Regions from separate parts of the Homo sapiens genome. Here all the other regions are linked to region 2. Evidence: promoter capture Hi-C in 16 types of primary human blood cells and fetal thymus (Javierre and others, 2016). All regions are on one chromosome and are shown on one strand. The core of a region is centred on a gene start or on the middle of the fragment in contact, and the rest is flanking DNA. Distances in the headings are between cores, read along the strand shown.

What was found. The method cuts DNA at HindIII sites, captures the fragments that hold promoters and counts their contacts. A CHiCAGO score of 5 or more calls a contact.
Region 1: a contact is called between a fragment that was not itself captured here and the fragment with the promoter of CD48 in region 2, in 2 of 17 cell types (non-activated CD4 T cells and activated CD4 T cells). The highest score is 9.0, in non-activated CD4 T cells.
Region 3: a fragment that was not itself captured here is called in contact with the fragment with the promoter of CD48 in region 2 in 9 of 17 cell types (non-activated CD4 T cells, activated CD4 T cells, naive B cells and 6 more); the score reaches 15.3 in non-activated CD4 T cells.
Region 4: a contact is called between a fragment that was not itself captured here and the fragment with the promoter of CD48 in region 2, in 15 of 17 cell types (naive B cells, total B cells, activated CD4 T cells and 12 more). The highest score is 17.2, in naive B cells.
Region 5: a fragment that was not itself captured here is called in contact with the fragment with the promoter of CD48 in region 2 in 6 of 17 cell types (non-activated CD4 T cells, fetal thymus, total CD4 T cells and 3 more); the score reaches 7.9 in non-activated CD4 T cells.
Region 6: a fragment that was not itself captured here is called in contact with the fragment with the promoter of CD48 in region 2 in 14 of 17 cell types (naive CD8 T cells, fetal thymus, naive B cells and 11 more); the score reaches 12.5 in naive CD8 T cells.

The regions. Positions count from the first base shown.
Region 1 is chr1:160,447,850-160,451,891 of GRCh38, forward strand. No RefSeq gene overlaps it. Among named protein-coding and RNA genes, the nearest start is that of VANGL2, 49 kb to the left of the region's middle. The HindIII fragment of the contact is 4,867 bases long and covers 1-3,983 here.
Region 2 is chr1:160,710,256-160,713,926 of GRCh38, forward strand. CD48 (CD48 molecule) reads right to left here and starts at 1,567. Exons shown (of 4, transcript NM_001778.4): 1 at 1,427-1,567. The coding sequence starts at 1,508. RefSeq lists enhancers at 1,816-1,995, 2,536-2,595. The HindIII fragment of the contact is 2,140 bases long and covers 942-3,081 here.
Region 3 is chr1:160,428,345-160,432,296 of GRCh38, forward strand. It overlaps VANGL2 (VANGL planar cell polarity protein 2), which reads left to right. Exons shown (of 8, transcript NM_020335.3): 8 at 1-326. Among named protein-coding and RNA genes, the nearest start is that of VANGL2, 30 kb to the left of the region's middle. RefSeq lists an enhancer at 1,524-1,753. The HindIII fragment of the contact is 2,927 bases long and covers 626-3,552 here.
Region 4 is chr1:160,985,576-160,989,778 of GRCh38, forward strand. No RefSeq gene overlaps it. Among named protein-coding and RNA genes, the nearest start is that of ITLN2, 33 kb to the left of the region's middle. RefSeq lists a silencer at 1,824-2,118. The HindIII fragment of the contact is 816 bases long and covers 1,370-2,185 here.
Region 5 is chr1:160,396,626-160,400,435 of GRCh38, forward strand. The region is part of intron 3 of LOC105371466 (a long non-coding RNA gene); the gene reads right to left. Among named protein-coding and RNA genes, the nearest start is that of VANGL2, 2.0 kb to the right of the region's middle. The HindIII fragment of the contact is 965 bases long and covers 999-1,963 here.
Region 6 is chr1:161,013,392-161,017,660 of GRCh38, forward strand. The region is part of intron 1 of F11R (F11 receptor); the gene reads right to left. Among named protein-coding and RNA genes, the nearest start is that of F11R, 5.6 kb to the right of the region's middle. RefSeq lists enhancers at 93-242, 653-872, 2,514-3,111. The HindIII fragment of the contact is 7,117 bases long and covers 1-4,269 here.

The DNA of each region.
Region 1 (4,042 bases), core at 300-2,799, 260 kb before region 2:
TTACACAAGATGAAATCGCTGACAAAAAATTGATTAATTGGGCCAAGGAGACATAGCTTATAAGTGTTGGGCTGGGATTCAAACGTGGTCTGCCATCTGCAGAGTCCAGTGTTTAACCACTAACAAGTGGAATCTAGGGTAAAGGGCACCTGTGTGGTATTATAACTCAGGTTAGAATCCAATTCGTTACCTTAGAACCTGGGTTTCCTGACTTTTATCCAGTGATTGTTTCTTGCTTTTTTCATTCTTTTATTGTGAAATATGTCATACACAGACTATATTGGATGAACACACACATTCAGTTTTTGTTGAACCATGCATGTGAAATTGTCAATATTTGCTCAGATTTGGCACGTAACAATAGCAACTTCATGATTTAATATACCATATTGTATTTTAATGAACTATATTAATTCATTCATATGCATATATATATATATACACACACACACACATATATATATATATATATTTTTTTTTTTTTTTTTGAGAAGGAGTCTTGCTCTGTCACCCAGGCTGGAGTGCAGTATGTGATCTCAGCTCACTGCAACCTCCATCTCCTGGGTTAAAGCGATTCTTGTGCCTCTGCCTCCCGAGTAGCTGGAATTACAGGCATGCGCTGCCATGTCTGGCTAATTTTTGTATTTTTAGTAGAGAGAGGGTTTCACCATGTTGGCCAGGCTGGTCTCAAACTCCTGACCTTAAGTGATCCACCCGCCTTGGCCTCCCAAAGTGCTGGGATTACAGGCATGAGCCACCATGCCCAGCCAATTCATTCATATTTAATGAACCTATTTAATGAACTACTATATCCTGGTTTAATGAACTAGTTTAAAGTTAAGCAAACCCTAATATAAGCAGCACACAGTTTAAAGAGTAGAGCATTGCCCTCTATGTGCCCCTCCTCCTCCTCCTTGCCCTCTGTAGATAATACTATGCTGACTTTTGTGATAATCATTTCTTTTCTTTGTAGTTTAACAACTGTGTTGGCATCCTTACAGAATATAGTTAGTTTTGCTTGTTTATGTCTTTATATAAATGGGTTATACTGCAAGTGTTCTTTTTCAAGTTGCTTTTTTCATTCAATATTAGGTTTATGAGATTTTCCAGACTGATGCATGCATTTATAGTTTTAATTAATTAATTGATTTTTATTTCAATAGCTTTGGGGGTACCAGTGCTTTTTAGTTACATGGATGAATTGTAGAGTGGTGAAGTCTGGGCTTTCAGTGTATCCATCACCCAAATTAGTGTACATTGTACCCAATAGATAATTTTTCATCCCTTATTCTCATCCCAACTTCCCCCTTTGTGAGTCTCCAATGTCCATTACACCACTCTCTTAGATTTCCAATCCATGAGCATGAGATGTTTGTTTGTGTCATCTATGATTTCTTTCAGCAGTGTTTTGTGGTTCTCCTTGTTGGTTAAGTATATTCCTAGGTATTTTTTTTTGCTAGCTATTGTAAATAGGATTGAGCTCCTGATATGATTCTCAGCTTGGTTGTGTTGGTGTATAGCAGTGTTATTGACTTGTATACATTAATTTTTGTAACCTTAAGATTTGATGAATTCATTTATCAGATCTAGAGATATTTTAAACAACTAAACTAGATCTACACTTGGATCCAGCAATTCCGCTACTGGGTGTCTACCCAGTAGGAAGGAAAATAAGTCATATTAATAAAGACACTTACACATGTATGTTTATTGCAACACAATTCATGATTGCAAAGATAAGGAATCAACCCAAGTGCCCATCAACCAATGAGTGGATAAAGAAAATGGTGTATATACATGCCACGGAATACTACTCAGCCATAAAAAAGAATGAAGTAATGTATTTTGAAAAAACTTGGATGGAATTGGAGGCCACTATCCTAAGCGAGGTAACTCAGGAACAGAAAACCAAATACTGCATGTTCTCACTTTTAAGTGGGAGCTAAGCTGTGGGTATGCATTTATAGGGTTTTTTTTGTTTGTTTTTTTGTTTTTGTTTTTTTTTTTGAGATGGAGTCTTGCTTTATTGCCAGGCTGGAGTGCAGTGGCACTATCTCGGCTCACTGCAACCTCTGCCTTCAAATGATTCTCCTGCCTCAGCCTCCCAAGTAGCTGGGACTACAGGCACATGCCACCACGCCCAGCTAATTTTCGTATTTTTAGTAGACACGAGGTTTCACCATATTGGCCAGGATGGTCTTGATCTCTTGACCTCGTGATCCGCCTACCTTGGCCTCCTAAAGTGCTAGGATTACAGGTGTGAACGACTGCGCCTGGCCTATAGTTTTTATTGTTGTTGTATGATATTCCGTTCTGTGAATAAATCACAGTGTACTTATTCATTCTACTGTTGAAGAGCATTTTGGTTGTTTCTGGGTTTTAGCTAATTAGCACAACACTCCCGTGAACATTCCTACATGTGTCTCCCGGTGCAGATGGCAGAAATCCCTCCAAGTCTAGTGTACATATTTATGGGTAGATTTACTGAGTGGAAGACAAAGCTAAACCATTTACACTAAATGACTCTGCACCCAGCAGGTACCAAGTTTCCATTGCTCCACATCCTCTCTTACACTTGGCGTTATTAATTTTAATGTGTTTGTCATCTAGGGGTGTGTAGTGATCCTTCGCTGTGATTTTAATGTACATTTCCTGGATTATTAAAGAGGGTGAACAATTTTACGTATCTTCAGTGATCATTTGGATTTCCTCTTTGCCCTTTGGGAAATGCTGTTCATGTGTCTCCCTCTCTCTCTCTCTCTGTGTGTGTGTGTGTGTGTGTGTGTGTGTGTGTTCACAGGAATTCATTACATGTTTCTGGATATTAGTCCTTTGTCAGTTACATATACTGTAAATATCTGCTCCCAGTTGTGGCTTGGTTTTTACTTTCTTTATGGTTTCTTTAAGTAAAAGGATTTTTAAAAATTTAATGTATGTGTATGATTAGTGCTTTTTATGTCTTGTTTAAGAAATCCTTTTTTATGCCAAGATCATGAAGATATTCTCCTATATTGCCTTTTAAAATCTTTGTATTTTTGTCTCTTACATTGAGGTCTTTCATACTCTTAGAATTGAGTTTTGTGTATGGCGTCAGGTAGTGGGAGGAGGTCTAGTTGTTCCAGTGTGATTTATTTTTAAAAATCCATTGTTTTCCTACTGATACGCATTGCTATCTTTGTTATGTATCAGTTTTCCGTGGCTTTTTCCAGTGGGGTAATCACTGTCCCCTGTTCACTTTTGAGAACAATTGATGATTAACTTTATGTACTTGTTCTCTCCTCCGTTTATTTTTTCTATGTGGTTATTTTACAGATGTAGTATCATGAAAACACTACAGTGTAATCAGTATTATCTCTTAACTTCCTTGATTTAACTCTAGTCAGACTACCCATTCATGCCTTGTAAGTCCCCTTGGATGCTGTGTCCCCATCGGTGGCCTCGTCCCAAGTCATGCAAATCAGAGCTGCGTGTTTGGTAACTGTTATGAATAGTTGACTCTCAGGCTTTGATACCTGGGGAGAAGAAGGAGAAAATTCAAGTCACTAAGCAAATAATTTGGGCAGTGAACTAAAGGAGTAGTACCTGCAGAAGTTGCATACTAAGCTGGAAGCAAGAGGTTCTCCATCCTTTCTTTAGCTATTTTTTGTGTGATCCTGTTCTCAGTTTTCTTATTTGTTGGGCTACATGAGCTACACTATCTCTTTCACTTCTAAAATTCAAATGAGACTCTGTCACCATCTTTCTGTGTGACTATATGTATCTAAATATCTTTTTGGTTTTCCTTTCCATAGCTCCAGTTTCTCTTACAGAGACTATTTAGAGTGAGTACTAAGTAAATATTTGATTTCTTCCTGCTTTGGGTAGAACAGCGCTGATGTATCTAAGGAGGAAATGGAAAAGAGGACTCTTAGTTGATGAGAGTTGATGAGAAGTTTATGAGAAAGGGCGAAGAGCCACCCAGTCTGCCCCTGGGGTCACTTTGAAGCTTAAAACAATACGTCTTCTTTGAACCTGTTTCCTCCACTAGCAAATGAGGATATCA
Region 2 (3,671 bases), core at 317-2,816:
CTCATCTGAAAAATGTAGATAATAATAGCCACCTCACTATTTTCTAATGAAAGTTAAATGAAAAAGTATGCAAAAGGCCTAGCACAATGTCTGACACACAGTAAGTGCTTAATTTGTATTTTACTAACCCAGGTTATAGCCCGGGTGTTATAACCCAGGTTTACTAACCTCATCAAAACCAATATTATCCATTCAAAGGATAACATAATCAGGTGTGGTCTGATTGTTTCAAAGAAGAATAAATGACCAAGATGAAGCCTAGAAAAGAAGTCAGAGAAAGGTCAACTGTCAGGATGTTTTCAGTATGCCTAGAGAAAGTCCTAAAATATTCCAATTCTCATTGGCAACCCTGCTTTTCCCAATAGTTAGATGAATACTTCACATCAGCCCCCAATCCCAAGGTCATACCAATGTCCTATGCATTGAGTCAGGCCCACAGAACCTATATAGCCGTAGACTCACACAGTCATGAACCAAAGGACTCTACCTGAGAGGTAGAATATGTGAGAGACCGATCCTCCACACATTCTACCTCATCTCCCCAAAAGTTACAAACTATCATCATTTTATGCCACAGTGTGACTACCACATGTTTGTTGATTTTTACTGTTTTACTCAGAGTGGTGAGCATTAAAGCCCTTTAAATTAAAAAGACTTGAGTATTTACTTGGGGGAATAGCAAGAAAGTCAAAGGTTTCACTGCTGTTTCTCAGCTGGCATAAGAAGAGAGGTACTGGATGAAGAAAGAGGGTGAGGCAGCTCTAACAGGAGAAGGAAAGTTAGCTCAGCCCTTGGTCACACACCGGGGACCGAACAGGCTGTGGCAGAGGAATGGACCTTAACTCTTAGCAATCAGATGTGTTAAGGTTCCTTTGATGCTGAAGCACTTCCAGCCTCTTCTCAGACCCTCATTCAGAGACCCCAGACAGCAATCCTTTCCAAGCTTTTCTTCCTATAATTTTGATCTATCTTTTCTTTGGGTCAATGACAATATCATTTACCTTGGCTCAGGATGCAACACCTCACATATACAGAGGTCTCAAAGAATGCCTAAGGGAGTACAGTGTGTCTGAGCATAAAATGCAGCAGCTGTCAGTGTAGAGCTTCTTCTTATTCAAAATGAAAAAACAAACACTTTTCCACAACTTCATGGACCACCAACCACGGGACAAAATATGAGGAGCCTACTTCTCTTGCTCCCCAGGTTCCTGTTTTGATCACATCCCCGTGGGAAAGGAGATGAAGCTCCATTCATCAGTGCTAAGAAAGGCTCCCCAACCATGCCATGGCCATGCTATTGGAATGGAAATACCTGCTTTCCAGACACCAGATCTGGCTTCTAGGGTTGAACTACATCCCGTCTCCCCTTTCCCAACTGACCATGCCTTCAGTGCACAATCACAGATACACAGTTGGTGGAAAGTACCTTGAATGCTGGTCACCAGGAGTGACAGAGGCAGCAGTAGCAATTCCAGAGCCAGACACGAATCCCAACCTCTGGAGCACATGCTTCCTTCCAGAACTTCCCAGCAACGCAGGAGACAGTTGAGAGCCTGGCTAGAAAAAGGCCGGGGCTAAAAACGGAACTTACCAAACAGGGTTAGAGAGAAAAAAAAAAAAACCACTGAGATTTTCTCTCCACCCAGCACACTTGTGTGGGGCCCCAGAAACCAGAAACCGGAGGTCTTGTAAATTTTTTTATCTAAGAGCATCACGGAAACTGAGAACAATTTTGTTTGAAGGTACATGAGTGCTTTTTTGTAGGGGGAAGATTCATAGCTTCTACTGTACTCTCAGGGGGGCCAGTACTCAGAAAAGAATAAGGGACCCTGATAGAGAATGTCTGCTTTTCGTTCCCAGGCAGGAATCCCTCTGATTAATTCAGGGGCTAAGACATAGGAGCTTCCCAGTCAAGCCTGGGTAGGTGTCATTCAGAGCCTGAAGTCTGGGAAATCAGACCCACGTAGCCTTTGTGCTGCATATCTTACCCCCAGCACCACCCTCTGCTCTTCTTCCTTTATGATAATTCACTATTTGAAGTTTGACATCAGCCTATCCACTGAACATCAGAAAAAAAGTAAGATTACTTGGCCCAAAAGAATGGATTTCCCACCCTTGTAGTCTGTATTAGTCTGTTCTCACACTGCTAATAAAGACATACCCCAGACTGGGTAATTTATAAAGGAAAGAGAGGGGTTTTGTTTTGTTTTGTTTGTTTTGGTTTTTTTTTTTTTTGAGATGCAGTCTCACTCTGTAGCCCAGACTGGAGTGCAGCAGTGCAATCTCAGCTCACTGCAACCTCCACCTGACAGGTTCAAGCAACTCTCCTGCCTCAGCCTCCTACATAGCTGGGATTACAGGCAAGCACCACCATGCCCAGCTAATTTTTGTATTTTTAGTAGGGTTTCACCATGTTGGCCCGGCTGGTCTTGAACTCCTGACCTCAAGTGATCCACCTGCCTCAGCCTCCCAAAGTGCTGGGATTATAGGCATGGGCCTGTGCCTGGCCAGGAAAGTGGTTAAATTGACTTCTAGTTCAGCATGGCTTGGGAAGCCTCAGGAAACCTACAATCATGGTGCAAGGGGAAGCCAATACGTCCTTCTTCACACGGTGGCAGGAAAGAGAAGCACTGAGCAGCAATGGGGAAAGCCCCTTCCTTATGAAACCATCAGATCTAGTGAGAACTCACTATCACGAGAACAGCATGATGGTAACTGCTCGTATGATTAACTTACTTCCTACTGGGTTGCTCCCATGATATGTGGGGATTATGGGAACTACAATTCAAGATGAGATTTGGAAGGGAACACAGCCAAATCATATCATGTCTAGGAAATTTCAAGCTCATTCCTATTGAATGTAAATTAGTTATTTGCCCACCCAGGACCCACAGGCAAGCCACAGTTCCTGATATAACATATTTGTAATCACTTTTTAATTGGGGACATTTCTGATTCTCAACATGGAGATGAACAATAAAATGTCTGCTCTTCTCAGTCCTCAAACCTGAAGGACATTATGTTAAGTGAAATAAGTCATGCACAGAAAGATAAAAAACCACGTTCCCAATCATATATGGAAGCTTAAAAAATGAGCTCATAGAAGTAGAGAGTAAAATTGTGGTTATCAGAGGCTGGGAAGGGTAGAGGGAAGTGGAGGATGGGAAGAAGTTGGTTAATAGATACAAAGTTACAGCTAGAGAAGAGGAATAAGTTCCAGCATCCTGTAGCACTATGGAGTGAATACAGTTAAGAATAATTTAATGTATATGTTCAAAAAGCTAGAAGAGAGGATTTGGAATGTTCCCAACACAAAGAAATGATCAATGTTTGAGGTGATAGGTATCCTAATTGCTTTGATTTGATCATCACACATTGAATACATGTATCAAAATATTACTCTGTATCCCATAAATATGTATAATTATTATATGTCAACTAAAAATAAAAGGGAAAAAAACATAAAAGTGAAAAGAAAGAACCCTGCAAATAAAATTTGAAACAGCACCAGAATCAAATTCCTCTTGGTCAAATTGTTACACTTTGGAACTGTGTGTTATATTTTTCCTATAAATTGATTTAACCTTAGGATACGACCCTGCTCCTTCAGCAAGAAAAGATAACATTGTATTAGATTTTTAAAAGAGACCCTGTAAATTAATGTTACATTC
Region 3 (3,952 bases), core at 839-3,338, 280 kb before region 2:
GTGTGATTGTTGTGATTTGTTCTTCCGTGCGCAAAAGGAAGAGGGCTTTTTGAGTCCCTTCCAAGTGAGATTGTAAATGTAGAATTTTCCACTGTTGGATCTAGATTTTTTTTCCTTTTTTTTGGGGGGGTGGGGTTACAGAGCTGAGACCTTGTGCATGCATGTAGAAAATTGTAAAATGTAAATTTTTTTTAATATATAAAAAGCTTGTTTCTACAGTTTGCAGTGGATCTAAACATTACGGCAATTTTAGGATTTTTTTCTTAAACATAGGAACTAAAACTGTACAAATTTTTTTTATATAAAATAAAGACATTTGACTTTTGTGGGGGCATTCTGTTGCTTTTCTTTCTTTACAGGAATGGGAGCAAATGAGGGCCAGGGAATAATGAATATATTCCTTGTTAGGGAGGGAATGGGCAGGAGGGGGCAGTGTGAGCTCATCATTGCTCTGCAGGCCTTCAGGGTGTGTTGGAGAGAAATGGGAAAATGAAAAAGGAAATTGCTTATTCTGAATCCTGATTCTAAAGAGAGAGAAACAACAATGTGAGGGCTTAACCACTTCCTGGTGTAGTTGTCAGGATAGAGAAAGAAAGATTACTTCCTGGGTCCACCCTCCTGAGCAAGCTTGTGTCTGTATGGCCTCTAGGGCAGGAGTGGGTTTCTAAAACGTATTTCTAAAACATAAAGTGCCATAGGAATTTCAGGGGATAGTTGAGATTTCAGTCAGTGGTGACAGCCCATCACAATTCATTGAGACAAGTTTCTGTAGTATATATATTAGTTCTAAATATGTAGAGAGTTCAGTGCTCTGTTGTCACTGTAATGCATGTAATCAGGTACTAAAATCACCCTCAAGAGATTGGGTCCCTTCTCCCAGTCTTACCTGGGCCTGACCTCTGTGACTTTGGGCAAGATGCTTAGCATGTAAACAGCCTGCTAAGGTTAAAAACAAGCATTTCTGTATGGAGGTGGCCTATTCACTAGATTTCCTCCTCCTCTCCCCTGCCTCATACTCTGCCAGGCTCTGGGGATGCAAAGGCAAGAGAGGCTCCATCCTGGAGGATGACCCAGTTTACAGGGGTGACAGGCTGGGTGACCCTAGTGCAAGGCTTCATGGCGTGTTCTCAGGCAGAGTGTAGACAAACCCTGGCTGGATTCCAAGGAGCTCGGGGAGTTTCCTTCAAGAAATCTAGGAAGTTTGTTTAAGACTCAAGATGGGGGAACACACTCACCTTGAGATTACATTTTGTTCATCTAAGTATTCCTAGAATTGAAACCAGTTCCTCGCATATAGTTGGTCCTCAATAAAAAATTGTTGCATGAATAATGAACTGAACAACTAACAATACAATAGGGGCTCATGAAAGGGATCATATACTTGCTTCTCCCTTTAAAATTGCACTCCAGTCTTTCTCATGTGAAAACAAACAAAAATACTTCCCTTGAAATTGCATCCCCATTCTCACGGCTCTGTTCTTTCTGTAACTAGGTTTGTAGAATAGTTTCACTTGCTGTTTCCAGTTCATTTCAGAGTCAACTTGTGACTTACATTGTGACCAAATTTCTACCTTAGCATGCCTCTGAAATTATTCTTGTTCTCAACAGCCAAGTATAGTAAACACCTTTTAAGTTTATTCTTTATTTAGTGCCTATGATGTTCCCAGCCTGATACTAAAGTACTTTCTCTGGTAAAGATACTGGATATGGTCCTGCCCTCACTGAGCTAACCTTGGTGGACCCTTGAGAAGGCTAGTTAACCTCAGGGACCTCCTCTTGTAATGCTGGCCCCAGGAATTCATAGATTTAAAGCCAGACCTCAATATTTGATTGATAAGATCATATTTTCTCTAGAGGTTTGCTGCAAGCAAAAGTGATAATCCTGACCATTTGTCAGGCAGCAAAGGGTATTTGTAACTTTTGTTTGAAAGGATGTGTTTTCCACAGAAGTTCTTCACATAGCACTGAAGTTAGGGACCCAGCTTGGTGGATTGTCAGGGTCATGCCTGGGACTTCATGACATTATATGTGATTATATGTGATTACATATGCTGCCCATGTGTGATTTTTGTTTTTTAGCCTTTGCCTTTGAAATACAGCCGAGAGGGGGAACTGGGGGCTGGGGCTCTGGCTGAGGAGACATAAAGATCTTTAGACCAAGGTCTCAGTGATTTGTTATTAGTTTTTTATTTTTTAATTTTAATTTTTTTGTTACTATTTTTTTTTGTTTGTTTGGGATAGTTTAATGGCTTCTACAGACTGAAAGTCAGCTTGCTTAAGGTAACCCTTGGCTTTTTTGTTACTTTAAGCATATGATAGTAATGCTCTTCCAATTGCCAGGAAGGCTGGGGTAGGGGAAAGTCAGCCTTTGGAAAAGCACTGCAGCATTAGTGTACACATGGTCATGGAAGATGCTAGAGAGATAATAAAGGACCACCTACATAGTAAATCTTGGAGAATAGTCATCCCTGTCTAGCTCCCCAGTTTCTTTTCAGGCTGAGAATGGGGTCCATTTCTCTTGGTACAAACGGCAGGGCAGACATGACATCCTACCTGCTCATAACAGTGAATGCCACATTTGAGTATGTAGAATAGTGGGAGAAGGTACTGGTTTAGAGTTGGGAAACCTGGCCAAGGCATTGGCTTCTCTCATTTCATCTCAGCAAGTTTTGGGGGCACACTTACTGTGTGGTAGGCATTGTGATACAAAGATAAATAAAACATTGGCCCCCTCCCCTTGGAGCTCATGGGACTTTTGCTAGATAAGTTGGGAAATTTTATTTTGTCATATGTTGTAGGCAACCCGAGGAAGCACACTATTTTCCTGGAGGTGGTAAATACCATCTGTAAAAGGCAGACTGAAGCCAACAGTGTGTGAGGGTATTGAGCCTGATATGTAAACTATTTTGATGTCACTTGTCAAAAATAGCCATCTGTACTCTGATATCCTGTAAGGGGAATGACTTTGGTTATAAGGTTATAAAAATTAGGAGTATGGCTGGGCGCAGTGGCTCACGCTTATAATCTCAGCACTTTGGGAGGCCGAGGCGGGTGGATCACCTGAGGTCAGGAGTTCGCGACTAGCCTGGCCAAGATGGTAAAACCACGTCTCTACTAATAATACAAAAATTAGCTGGGCGTGGTGGCACATGCCTGTAATCTCAGCTACTTGGGAGGCTGAGGCAGGAGAATCACTTGAACCCGGGAGGCAGAGGTTGTGGTGAGCCGAGATTGGGCCACTGCACTCCAGCCTGGGTGATAAGAGTGAAACTCTGTCTCAAAAAAAAAGAAAAGAAAGAAAAGAAAAAAGAAAAAAAAAATTAGGAGTATGAGATCTTCGGTTGTGTATTGTCCCTTCTTGCTTTTGGGCACAATTAGGTCATGCTGCTGCTTCACTTAGGGTAAGTATGTGGTTAAAAGTATGTGGTTTTAGGATTTTTTAGGGCAGTGGAACTACTGTGTATGTGCTATAAATGTGGATACTTGGCATTATACATTTTTCCAAACCCATAGGATATACAGTACCAGTAGTGAAGCCTAATGTAAATTATAAGCTTTGAGTGATTAATTGGAACAAATGTACCACTCTGGTGGGGGATGTAGATAATGGGAGAGTCCATGCAAGTGTGGGGGCAGGGCATGTATAAAAAATCCCTGTACCTTCCACTCAATTTTCACATGAAACTAAAACTACTCTAAAAAGGCTATTTACATTTGAGATCAGGAGTTCGAGACCAGCCTGGCCCACATGGTGAAACCCTCCCCCGCTGTCTCTACTATAAATACAAAAATTATTTTGGTGGAATGCGCCTGTAATTCCAGCAACTCGGGAGGTCAAGGCATGAGAATCGTTTGAACCCGGGAGGTGGAGGCTGCAGTGAGCTGAGATTGTGCCACTGCACTCCAGCCCGGGCAACAGAGCAAGACTCCATCTCAAAAATAAATAAATAAA
Region 4 (4,203 bases), core at 528-3,027, 280 kb after region 2:
GCAAGCCAAGATCACGCCATTGCACTCCAGCTTGGGCAACAAGAGCAAAACTCTGTCTCTTTTTATTATTACTTTTTTAATAATAATAATAATAAAAGTGTTATGCGTGTCCACATAAGAGACCACCTGAACAGGCTTAGTGTGAGCAACATGGCTGTTTATTCACTTGTGTGTGAGTGGGCTGAGTCCGAGAAAGGGGTCAGCAAAAGGTGGTGGGATTATCATTGGTTCTTATAGGTTTGGGATAGGCGGTGTAGTCAGGAGCAATTTTTTACAGGCAGGGGATGGATATTACAAAGTACATTCTCAAGGGTGGGGAGGATGTTACAAAGTACATTCACAAGGGCAGGGAGGGTGTATTGTCACAAGGGCAGGGAGGATGTATTGTCACAAGGGTGGGGAGGAATGTTACAAAGTACATTCACAAGGACAGGAGTATCACAAAGTACATTATCACAAGGGTGGGGGAATGTCACCGTGGCTTGACCATAGTGCAGCCAGCTCAGAGGACCTTACAAAAAGTTTCATACTTGCACGTGTTTTCTTGTGGCAAAAATATAAAACATTTAATTTCTGGGATTCTTTTTTTTTTTTTTTTTTTTTTGAGATGTAATCTCACTCTGTTGCCCAAGCTGGAATGCAATGGCGAGGACTCAGCTCACTGCAAACTCCGCCTCCCAGATTCAAGCAATTCTCCTGCCTCACCCTCCAGAGTAGCTGGGATTACAGGCGCCCACCACCACGCCTGGCTAATTTTTGTATTTTTAGTAGAGACAGGGTTTCACCATATTGGCCAGGCTGGTCTCGAACTCCTGACCTTGTGATTTGCCTGTCTCGGCCTCCCAAAGTGCTGGAATTGCAGGGTGAGCCACCACGCCTGGCTGGGATCATCTTTTTTTCTACAGAGAGAAAATCAATTGTATCTCTACCAGGCAAACAATTTGCATTTGTATTAATATGAACAGGGATCATTTGTATCACTGTCAGGCTTCTACATATTTAACTTTTCTTTCTAGAGTTGCAAAACAGTACAAGACAAGGAAGGATACTGACCTGTAGAGAATCAGAAAACCCCCAGAAGCATCCTGTCCTCTAGTCTAGACAAATCCTAGTAATCCACTGGAAGGATGCCTGTATTTGTCCATTTCAGAAACTGTCACAATTTTTCCTTAACTAACAGCAGGAATTTTGATAGCCAAAAGTCATATTGTTTATTATCACTGTGGGAGCCAAGGCCTTTGGCTCCCTGAAGTTTGCTGAAAATCACTGACGCAAGGCAGATTAATAGGAAAAAAGGCATACAAACTTATTTAATATGTATACATAGAAGCCTTCAGAATGAAGACCCAACCTCCCAGTGAGGTGCAAAAGCTTATACGCCATCATGAGGTTACAGAAAGAATGAGTTTGGATCCTGCGGGAGAAAAGGAATTCTGTTGATGGGCAATAAATGATTACTAAAGAGAATGATTTGATCAGGAAACAAATTAACTTGTAAATAGTTTTCTTTGGAATTTAGATGACCATGAGAAGCAGGCATTAACTCATGAAAAGGTCTGTTCAGGTGTGGTTACATTTTTGGTCTTACAGGAGGAAAAGAAACCTACTGTTCTCCTTGGAGGGTCTGGATCTTAGGCAAATAAAGGAACTTCAGCTTTTTGGGAGAGACCGTGTGGAGCGGGGAAGGTCAGAGAGATCTTCAGGTTGCTTCTTCGGTTCAGTACTATATTTGGGGGTATCGATTTATAAACCCCAACATTACCTAATGTATTGTTCCCGATGAGCCTCCCTCCAATCCCTTTTCCCCTGTATCCCAATGGCCGGAAACTTGTGGAAATTCTTCCCAAGGCCTCTAAAAGCAGCACTTGCTTTTGCCTGGTTGCTAATGCAAGTTGTGAATTGCGCACGTGAATCACTATCACTGTCCATCCACCACTCTCTTGCTCTAAGGCATTGAAACGGCACTGCAGAGAGACGCCAGGTAACAAAGACTCTCCTTAACCAAGCTCTAGCATGGCTTCTAGCAACTTAAGGCCTTGTCCCTAGGAGGACCTCAGCCCCCCGCTTAAAATGCCTGCCTGAAAAAGCTCATCGCTGTCAGAAAAATTTACTGTGCATCCCAGCCCAAACCTAGCAATAGACACAGGCCCCTGAACTTCATCTTAGTGCAATTACTTAGAAAGAAAGCTTGCAATTAAAACATCTTTCTCTGCCTCTTTGAGATGTAAATCTTCTACCCAGAGCTATTTTCACTGGGACCTGAGAGTTTCTTTGAAATGCAAACATTTGAGGAAATAAATCTTGCTCCAGCTCCCAACCAGGTGGGTGCCTTGCTCTAACTTGCACTACTAGCTCCTGTCGTAAAAATAGGTGCTTATTTCTCTTCTGGACAAGAGCCAATTCACAAATCCAGATTGTCTAGTCACATGGAGCAATTCTCCTTAATATCTTCATGCCTATCCCTTAGCACATCCCAGCCTTCAAAAGGCCTCCTGCATTTTTTTTTTTTTTAAGGAAGTTAAGTTCAGTTCACCTTGGGCCCTCTTCCCTACTGCAATAGTTACTACTTAAAAAAACCTATCCTAGGCCGGGTGCAGTGGCTCACGCCTGTAATCCCAACACTTTGGGAGGCCGAGGTGGGCAGATCACCTGGGGTCAAAAGTTCAAAACCAGCCTGACCAACATGGAGAAACGCTGTCTCCACTAAAAATACAAAAAAATTAGCCGGGCGTGGTGGTGCATGCCTGTAATCCCAGCTATTCAGGAGGCTGAGGCAGGAGAATCGCTTGAACCCCGGACACGGAGGTTGCGGTGAGCCAAGATCGCGCCATTACCCTCCAGCCTGGGCGACAAGAGTGAAACTCCATCTCAAATAAATAAATAAATACCTATCCTTACTTCTTGTCTAAACTATTGTCTGGCTTTGTTTAGCTTTGACACAGGCTTTATAAGCCCACAAGTAACTTTAAGGCAAAGCCTTATAAATTCATCCAAGGCACTGACATTGAAGAATGTCTAACATTTCTGTGATATGCTTCAATCTCACTTCCAGCCTGTTCCAAACCTTCTTTTTAGTTTTCTACTTCCAGAGACTTTTTCCTTTGGTTAATCACCTTGTAATTCTTAGGTCTGATTCTCGAGCTAGCACATTTCAGCCCCTACAAATAAATGCCTTCTCCCAAAATGTGCAGCTCTTTTGCCATGCTACATTCTATTTGTCTTTCTAGTACTATTTTAATAAGTATCATAGCTCAAGCATGATCAACCCTCAGCTTCTTTATATGGTTATAGGAGTCTCTGACAAGCCTGAGGACAAGCATGTTCTGCATATTTTTTCTTGTCAACTTTTTTTAATGTGCAAAACATTAACATGGATCCAGAAGTCAAAACTAGACAAAATGGTAAATAAACTCAGAGAAGTAATACTCCATCATGTATCTATTTTTATTTTTATTTTTTTGAGACAGAGTCTCGCTCTGTCGCCCAGGCTAGAGTGCAGTGGCGCGATCTGGGCTCACTGCAAGCTCCGCCTCTGGGGTTCACACCATTCTCCTGCCTCAGCCTCCCAAGTCGCTGGGACTACAGGTGCCCACCACCACGCCCGGCCAATTTTTTGTATTTTCAGTAGAGACTGGGTTTCACCGTGTTAGCCAGGATGGTCTCGATCTCCTGACCTCGTGATCCGCCCGCCTCAGTCTCCCAAAGTCCTGGGATTACAGGTGTGAGCCACCGCGCCCGGCCGATCATGTATCTATTTCATCTAGACCTTATCTACCTCTTGAAATAACCAATTTAGTTTATTTTCCTTCCTGTGTTTGTTTCTGCAAAAATAAGCAAATATAGTATGCTTTCTTATTTCCCCTCCTTTCGTATCAAAAAGGTGGCCTTTTTTTTTTTAATTTTCTCATAGAGACAGGGTCTCACTTTGTTGCCCAGGCTAGTCTCAAACTCTTGGCCCCAAGCAATCCTTCCACCTCAGCCTTCCAAAGTGCTTGGATTATAGGTGTGAGCCACCATGCCCAGCCATTTGTCTTTTATTTTCCTTTTTTTTTTTTTTTTTTTTTTTGAGACGGAGACTTGCTCTGTTGCCCAGGCTGGAGTGCAGTGGCGTGATCTCGGCTCACTGAAACCTCCGCCTCCTGGGTTCACGCGATTGTCCTGCCTCAGCCTCCTCAGTAGCTGGGATTACAGGCGCGTGCCACC
Region 5 (3,810 bases), core at 231-2,730, 310 kb before region 2:
ATTTCATTTTATTATGTCTGCTGGGCAAAGATCAGTGAAGAGGCCGAAGTTGGTTACAGGAGAGATTGTGAATAATGGATGGAGGTGGGAAAGGACAGGATATAACGCACACCTGCAGGGCCTAGTCCCAGCCAAGGGAGCTGGAGAGTGTCTATTCTTCCCAAGAAGGAGGAAGGAAATCAGAAAGTTTCATTCAGTGGTTCTCACATTAAAATCACTGAGGTATCTTAAAAAAAATGCCAATAGCTGGGTCACACCTCAGAAGTTTCTGGTTTAATTAGTCTGGGATGGTCCTGGGCATTGATGTGTTTTCAAAGCTTCCCAGGTGATTAAAATCTGCAGTCAAAGTTCACAACCACTGGTTTAATTGCAGGTAACATTTTAGATTAATGATAATGGGATTGGATTTGAGGAAACTCACACTTAATAAAGGTTGGATGAATAGGGAGTGGTCAAGGTTTCATAGATGAGGAAGGGAGAAAGAGAAGGAAGCTAGAAGGGAAGGCAGCTAATGCTAACTTATTGAATTTTATGTGCCAGAGATATAGAAATGAATGAGGCATGGTCCTTCTTCTTAGAGATCAGGATCTCACATGACAGACACTTCACCACAAGCCTATGACATAATACAGTTCTTGACCAGTTAAGTTTTTTTGTGTGTGAGCTACTTTTATTCTTTTTTTTTTTTTTTTTTAACTAAAAGTGAAGGGGGAAACCCCTCACACCCAGAACCCAGGTATTTCCCAATATAGACTGGGTCTGGAAATCCTTTTGTGAGCATTGAGAGTAGCCTTTCTGGGAAGGTGGGTGCTGGGGAAAGATCTGTAACTATTCCGGGAGATCAACTTGTACCCAGGCTCATCAGCAGGGCTGGAAGTAGATGGTGATTGTGGCCCTGCATGTGGGTACATTACTGCAGTCACCTGTACCTGGGAGGTGGCTAAAATTGCTAATTGCTTACATGGAAACACTTTGATGGCCATTCTGCTATAGTGTGAAGCTTCTATGAGTAAGGTACCAAGGATTCCCTTTCTCTGAGCAGCATTGTAAAAAGGCCCTACTTTTCATCAGAGCAGAAAACCTAACTTTTGCTACTGTGGTCTGGGCCTGACCTCCAGGGACAGCTTCATCCACACAGGAAGTAGGTAGGTGCTTCTCTATAGTCTGGACCTTCCCTCAGAGAGAGTCTACTGTCACTTCTTGAGTTCCTTGAATCTTCCCCAGGAGGGTCCAACTCCCAGGGCTCCTGGGAAGCCTCTGATCTGACCCCACCAGCCCCACCTCCACCTAGTGAGCTGGTGAGGTGTTGAAAGGGCTTTAATGGAGGGCCCTGGCTTTTAGCTAGGGGCCTCCTTCCCCGAGGAAGAGTACTGAAAGAAGTGTCCTAGAGAAGTGTTCTCTCCTAAGAGAAGTATCCTAGGCACAGAACAGAGAGGGGAAACTCGACTGGGAATTGACTGTGGCACTATGAGTATATGGAGGGTGTTCCTTCTGTTACCTCATTAGACCCTTTTTATATAAGCAGAAATTGAGGCTTGAAGAAATTAAGAAATTCGACTATGTCCTCAAGGACAGGAGCTGTACAAAATCCAATCTGTTCCATTCTATTGTCCCTCAGGCTCTTGGCCTCCCTCTGTTATTGTAGGTTGGCCCCTTTAGGAAAATCTCAGTTGAATGTCATTTCAGTGCTCTCCTTCCTTCTAAAGAATTAAGCTAGGTCCCTTAGACCATAGGGCACATGGGCCTTCTAGCTGGGTCTCTGTTTGCTTACTCAGTGACTTGGGGACGTGTGAAATCCAGATGGGATTCTATCCTGAGGTGAAGGTAGAAGGTAATACAGAGAATTGCTGAATGGGACAGACCACACCAATAAAATTTTTTGTTGGACTCTGTAATCCAGTGTTTTCATTGCAGAGATGTAATTGAAAGCCCCCAACCTCACCGTCAGAGAAAGGAGGGACTAAGCTTATTCTAGCCTGATGCCTGATACCTGTTAATTGGGAAGCCTTGTCTGTTAACATCCTGACTTAGGTTTCAAGCTTTCAGTGGGGCCAGACTATGGAATTATCTGTAATTCTGGCATCAGAAGCCCTTTTTCCAGTTCTTTGGGCCATTTTGGGGTCTGTGAAACAGGCTAGCAGCATGTGAAGATAATTCACACTAAATCTGCCTGAGAGTCAAGACAGTGCCACGGCAGCCCCGACTCTGTGTCAAATTACACACTAGCTGCCTAGCACTGGGGTGTGCTTTGGGGCAGGGCTGGGGACACCCATGTCCTCCCTACTTCCCTTAACCCTTCCCCAGCTCTCCTGCCACTCCCTCATACACCTGGTCGTGGTCACTGCCAGGAGCCCCAGTGCGGCCCAGTGCCTGCACATGATAGGCACAAGGTGAATGAGTGCCTGGACGCATGCAGGGACTTGGGTACCTGAAATGATGATTCTGCATATTTCATGTAGTCTTGATGCTGAGTCACCTGCTTACCCATACTACTGGAGGAGGGGATGAGGAAAGACAGAGTTTGGGCAAAGGAGAAAGGAAGTGTGTTTTACTGTTCTGCATCTTTGAACAATGCAGCATAGTTGGTTCTGTCCTCATCTTTGGACAGGTTAGAATGAACCATCAAAAGGGGTGAGATTAGGTCTCAGGAAATAGTTTTCATCAGGGAGGAGCAAAAATTCCCAAACAAGTGAGGAACAGAGGCTGGGAGTCTCTTTCTCTGGGATTCCTTAATCACAGGGTTGTTCAAGCAGGTGCCAGGATTGGAAACTGAAGGAGGCTGAGATATTGAAAAGGCCTTGGCCTGCTTAGGGAGAAGTATGTGAAGATGCTTTTGAAATGATACTACTCTAAGTGGCGGGTTGCACGGCAATAACATTAATGATAATTGAATACTGCTTTCACTTACTCCAAGGGGAACATGGACTTCCCACAGCCCAGGCTTTTACGGTGTGGGTTCACTCTTGTAGGGTCACATGTAAAAGAACCCTAACTGGTTTCTTGGCATACTGGGAGGCACAAATGCCCCAAACGTGTAGGATATTTTGTGAGATCCTACAATCCCTGTGTGGCACCTTCAACTCTAAAGTATCTGAAACTCCTGGGATGGACAATCTGCCTGCTTGGGGTTGGGGACCCAACTGGCCAAGGCATTTTTCCTCTTGGAGGTTTCCTGGGAGAAGGCCCCCTCTCCTCTGCCATTCAAACTCCCAGGCGCCCGCGTCTTTTCCTCCTCCCCTTCTTCCCTAAGGCAGGGTTCCCTTTGTAATTAATCCCAACACTCAAACCAGAGGGGAGGAAAAATGTGTTAATGAGGGAGCGTCCCAGACTGACTGGGGCGGTCGCTGCTCGCAGCTAGAACTCCAAGTAATTAAATTATTTTTGGAAGGAGGGGATATGGTGGTGATGGTGTCAGGGAAATCCCCGTATGCATGGGAAGAGGCGTGCGCCTCTCGCCACTAATTAAAATCAGGGATGACCCTCCCTTCTCGGACCCCTAGGGGGAAAAAAAAAATCAATCTTCCCACGTCCCAGATTCCATTGGATTTTGTGTAGTCGGGTCCGTGGCCCTAAAGAGAATATGGCCAGCCCCAGGGATCTGGGGGCTCCTTCTCCGACAGGAGGGGTCCAGGAAGACAGCCCCAGGAGGGACTGCGGGCTGGGCCAAGTCCAAGAATCGAGGCATTCCCCTGCCCACCGTTCGGGACCCGAGTGTCAGCCCCACCGCGGATTCCCAGGATCGGGGAGGGCCGCTGGGCATCTGAAGGCGCAGGGCTGGGGGAGCGGCGACTCCGGGAAGAGCGGGGCCGC
Region 6 (4,269 bases), core at 846-3,345, 300 kb after region 2:
AAACACCAATGTTTGTTGGATTAACAAGTGAATTTCACACTGCAATACAATTAGAACCTGGACCTAGAGCTTCCACTCTGGTTTTCCCCTTCCTCCCCACCACTCACCCTGTAGAGATTGAAGTAACTCCCATAAGGGTTGGCCTCCTCGTAAAGATCAAGAGGCTCCATGGGCCAGGGAAGTTCCACAGGGAAGGGCCTTTCCGGGGTTTGGGGTAGAACAGTTTAGAAATGTGTGAGCAAGAGGAAGGCTCTGTGAGGCCAACAACAGGCTGGGCTATGTCTAAATAGCCATCCTTGGCTGCACTTTCAGTGATGTCGATCAGCTGGCTCGGGTCCTCTGAGGATGGCAGAAAGTGGTAATGGCAGGGTAAGACAGGCTCGCTTTCACTCCCTGGCTCCCTCCCGCCCTCTCTGCAGAATTTCCGGTTCTACCTGCTCAGCTCCCCCGCCACCCCATCTTCCCAGTGCAAGGGAAGGTCGAGCCTTCCAGCGCAGGACTTACTTCAGGGGCCCAGCACCCACTTCCTGCCAGCCAGCTGCTTCCTCCTGTTCCGCCCCTACATTGTGAAACAAATGACGCAGCCGGACTTTAGACAGAAACCCTGCTTATCAGGGAGTCCAGGCAGATGAACTCTGGGTTCTCAATGCCAGGAAAACCCTAGTGTGTATCCACTCTCACAGTATGTGTTCACTCATACTGCTTTCCACAACCGTCACACAATAGTGAAACCTCATCCTCAATTATGTTGGACGCAAGGTCATCCAGGTCTTTCCTGAATCTCTGAAACAGAAACTGGTTTGAGTTTAGAGATCTCCAGGGTCTCTAGTCAAACCTAACAGATGTGATAAACAAGTCTCATTATTATCACATAAAATGTGCATGGCATTTAAATCTATTTTTGGGTGTGGTGGAAACGTGTGTTGCCCATTTATGTGTCCACAGAACAAGTGCAAATTGAACTCAGCTGACTTGGAGGGGGGTGGGATGTATCCTAACAGCCAAGGCCACAATCCCTAGAAACCAATATGGGCCAGGTGTAGTGACTCATACCTGTCATTCAGCATTTTGAAAGGCCAAGGCAAAAGGATCCCTTAAAGCCAAGAATTCAAGACCAGCCTGTACAACAGATGAGACCCTGTCTGTACTAAAAAAATAAAAAATTAGCCAGGTATGGCTCACCACTCACACTTGCCTATAGCCTCAGCTATTCAGGAGGCTAAGACTGGAGGATTGCTTGAACCCAGGAGGTCAAGGCTGCAGTGAGGCCAGGCACGGTGGCTCATGCCTGTAATCCCAGCACTTTGGGAGGCCAAGGCAGGCGGATCACTTGAAGTCAGGAATTCAAGACCAGCTTGGCCAACATGGTGAAACCCTATCTCTACTAAAAATACAAAAATTAGCCGGGCAGCTCACACCTGTAATCCCAGCACTTTGGGAGGCCAATGGGGGCAGATCACAAGGCCAGGAGATCAAGACCATCCTGGCTAACATGGTGAAATCCCATCTCTACTAAAAATACAAAAAAAAAAAAAAATTAGCAGGGAATGGTGGCGGGTGCCTGTAGTCCCAGCTACTTGGGAGGCTGAGGCAGGAGAATGGCGTGAACCCGGGAGGCAGAGCTTGCAGTGAGCCGAGATCACGCCACTGCACTCCAGCCTGGGTAACAGAGCAAGACTCCATCTCAAAAAAAAAAAATTAAATTAAAAAAATATGTACAAAAGGCTGGGCACAGTGGCTCATGCCTGTAATCCCAGCATTTTGGGAGGCCGAGGCAGGCAGATCACGAGGTCAGCAGATCGAGACCATCCTGGCTAACACGGTGAAACCCCGTCTCTACTAAAAAAAATACAAAAAATCAGCCGGAGTGGTGGCGGGCCCCTGTAGTCCCAGCTACTCGGGAGGCTGAGGCAGGAGAATGGCGTGAACCCGCGAGGCGGAGCTTGCAGTGAGCCGAGATTGCTCCAGTGCACTCCAGCCTGGGTGACAGAGCCAGACTCCATCTCAAAAAAAAAAATATATATATATATATATATACACACACACAAAAATTAGCCAAGAATGGTGGTGCACGCTTGTGTCCCAGCTACTCGGGAGGCTGAGGCAGGAGAATCACTTGAACCTGGGAGGCAGAGTCTGCAGTGAGACAAGATCACGCCACTGGACTCCTCCCTGGGCAACACAGCAAGACTTTGTCTCAAAAAAAAAAAAAAAGGCTGCAGTGAGCTATGATCATGCCATTGTACTCCAGCCTGGGCAACAGAGTGAGACCCTGTTTCAAAAACAACAACAACAACAACAAAACTCCATGATATATATATATAAGCAAGATGTAGAATATATGTAGTATGCCTCTTTTTGTGTCAGAAAGGGGAGAAAAAACAAGTATTATTTATATATACTTGTATCTGTAAAATGAAACACTGAAGAGACATTAGAAACTATTGGGGTTTGGGGTGAACAGGAGCAACATGGGAATGAGATACCCCACCCCTTTGATATCATTTTAATTATAAAACCATGTCAATTAACCTATTCTAATTAAATTTTTTTAAAAAAAATCACAGTAGCTCTATCTTGAATCGGAACTGGGCTGGAGACTCCACAAGACATGATCACAAAGGAACTGAAGAGCAACATGGTGAGGTAAAAGTGGTCTGGAGTGGCCAGGTGCAGGGGTTCACGCCTGTAATCCCAGCACTTTGGAAAGCCTAGGCAAGAGGATTACTTGAAGTCAGGAGTTCGAGACCAGCCTGGCCAACATGGTGAAAACCCGTCTCTACTAAAAATACAAAAAATTAGGGGCCGGGCGCGGTGGCTCACGCCTGTAATCCCAGCACTTTTGGAGGCCGTGGCGGGCAGATCATGAGGTCAGGAGATCAAGACCATCCTGGCTAACACAGTGAAACCTCGTCTCAACTAAAAATAGAAAAAATTAGCCAGGCATGGTGGCGGGCGCCTGTAGTCCCAGCTACTCAGGAGGCTGAGGCAGGAGAATGGCATGAACCCGGGAGGTGGAGTTTGCAGTGAGCCGAGATCGTGCCACTGTACTCCAGCCTGGCGACAGAGAGAGACTCTGTCTCAAAAACAAATAAATAAATAAATAATACAAAAAATTAGCCGGGCGTGGTGGCGCGTGCCTGTAGTCCCAGCTGCTGGGGAGGCTAAGGCAGGAGAATCGCTTGAAGCCGGGAGGTGGAGGTTGCAGTGAGCCAAGATCATGCTACTGCATTCCAGCCTGGGTAACAGAATGAGACTCCGTCTCAAAAAAAAAAAAAGTGATCTGGAGCCAGAAGGCAAAGACTAAAGGACACTGAAATTCCACTGCCACTCGTTTCCTAGTTCCAGGTAGAACTAGGAAGTGCCAGTCACCAGTTTCTAGTTTGGAGGGAACAATTCACTCCTGGGAGTAGAGGGAGAGGAAAGGAGGAGTGACTCACCAGTGTGGGGAAAAGCAAGAGAGATCAGATTGTTACTGTGTCTGTGTAGAAAGAAGTAGACATAGGAGACTCCATTTTGTTCTGTACTAAGAAAAATTCTTCTGCCTTGGGATGCTGTTAATCTATGGCCTTACCCCCAACCCCTTGCTCTCTGAAACATGTGCTGTGTCAAACTCAGGGTTAAATGGATTAAGGGTTGTGCAAGATGTGCTTTGTTAAACAAATGCTTGAAGGCAGCATGCTCCTTAAGAGTCATCACCACTCCCTAATCTCAAGTACCCAGGGACAAAAACACTGCGGAAGGCCGCAGGGACCTCTGCCTAGGAAAGCCAGGTATTGTCCAAGGTTTCTCCCCATGTGATAGTCTGAAATATGGCCTCGTGGGAAGGGAAAGACCTGACTGTCCCCCAGCCCAACACCTGTAAAGGGTCTGTGCTGAGGAGGATTAGTATAAGAGGAAGGCATGCCTCTTGCAGTTGAGACAAGAGAAAGGCATCTGTCTCCTGCCCGTCCCTGGGCAATGGAATGTCTCGGTATAAAACCAAGACATTGTACGTTCCATCTACTGAGATAGGGAAAAACCGCCTTAAGGCTGGAGGTGGGACATGCGGGCAGCAATATTGCTTTGTAAAGCATTGAGATGTTTATGTGTATGCATATCTAAAAGCACAGCACTTGATTCTTTACCTTGTCTATGATGCAAAGACCTTTGTTCACGTGTTTGTCTACTGACCCTCTCCCCACAATTGTCTTGTGACCCTGACACATCCCCCTCTCAGAGAAACACCCACGAATGATCAATAAATACTAAGGGAACTCAGAGGCTGGC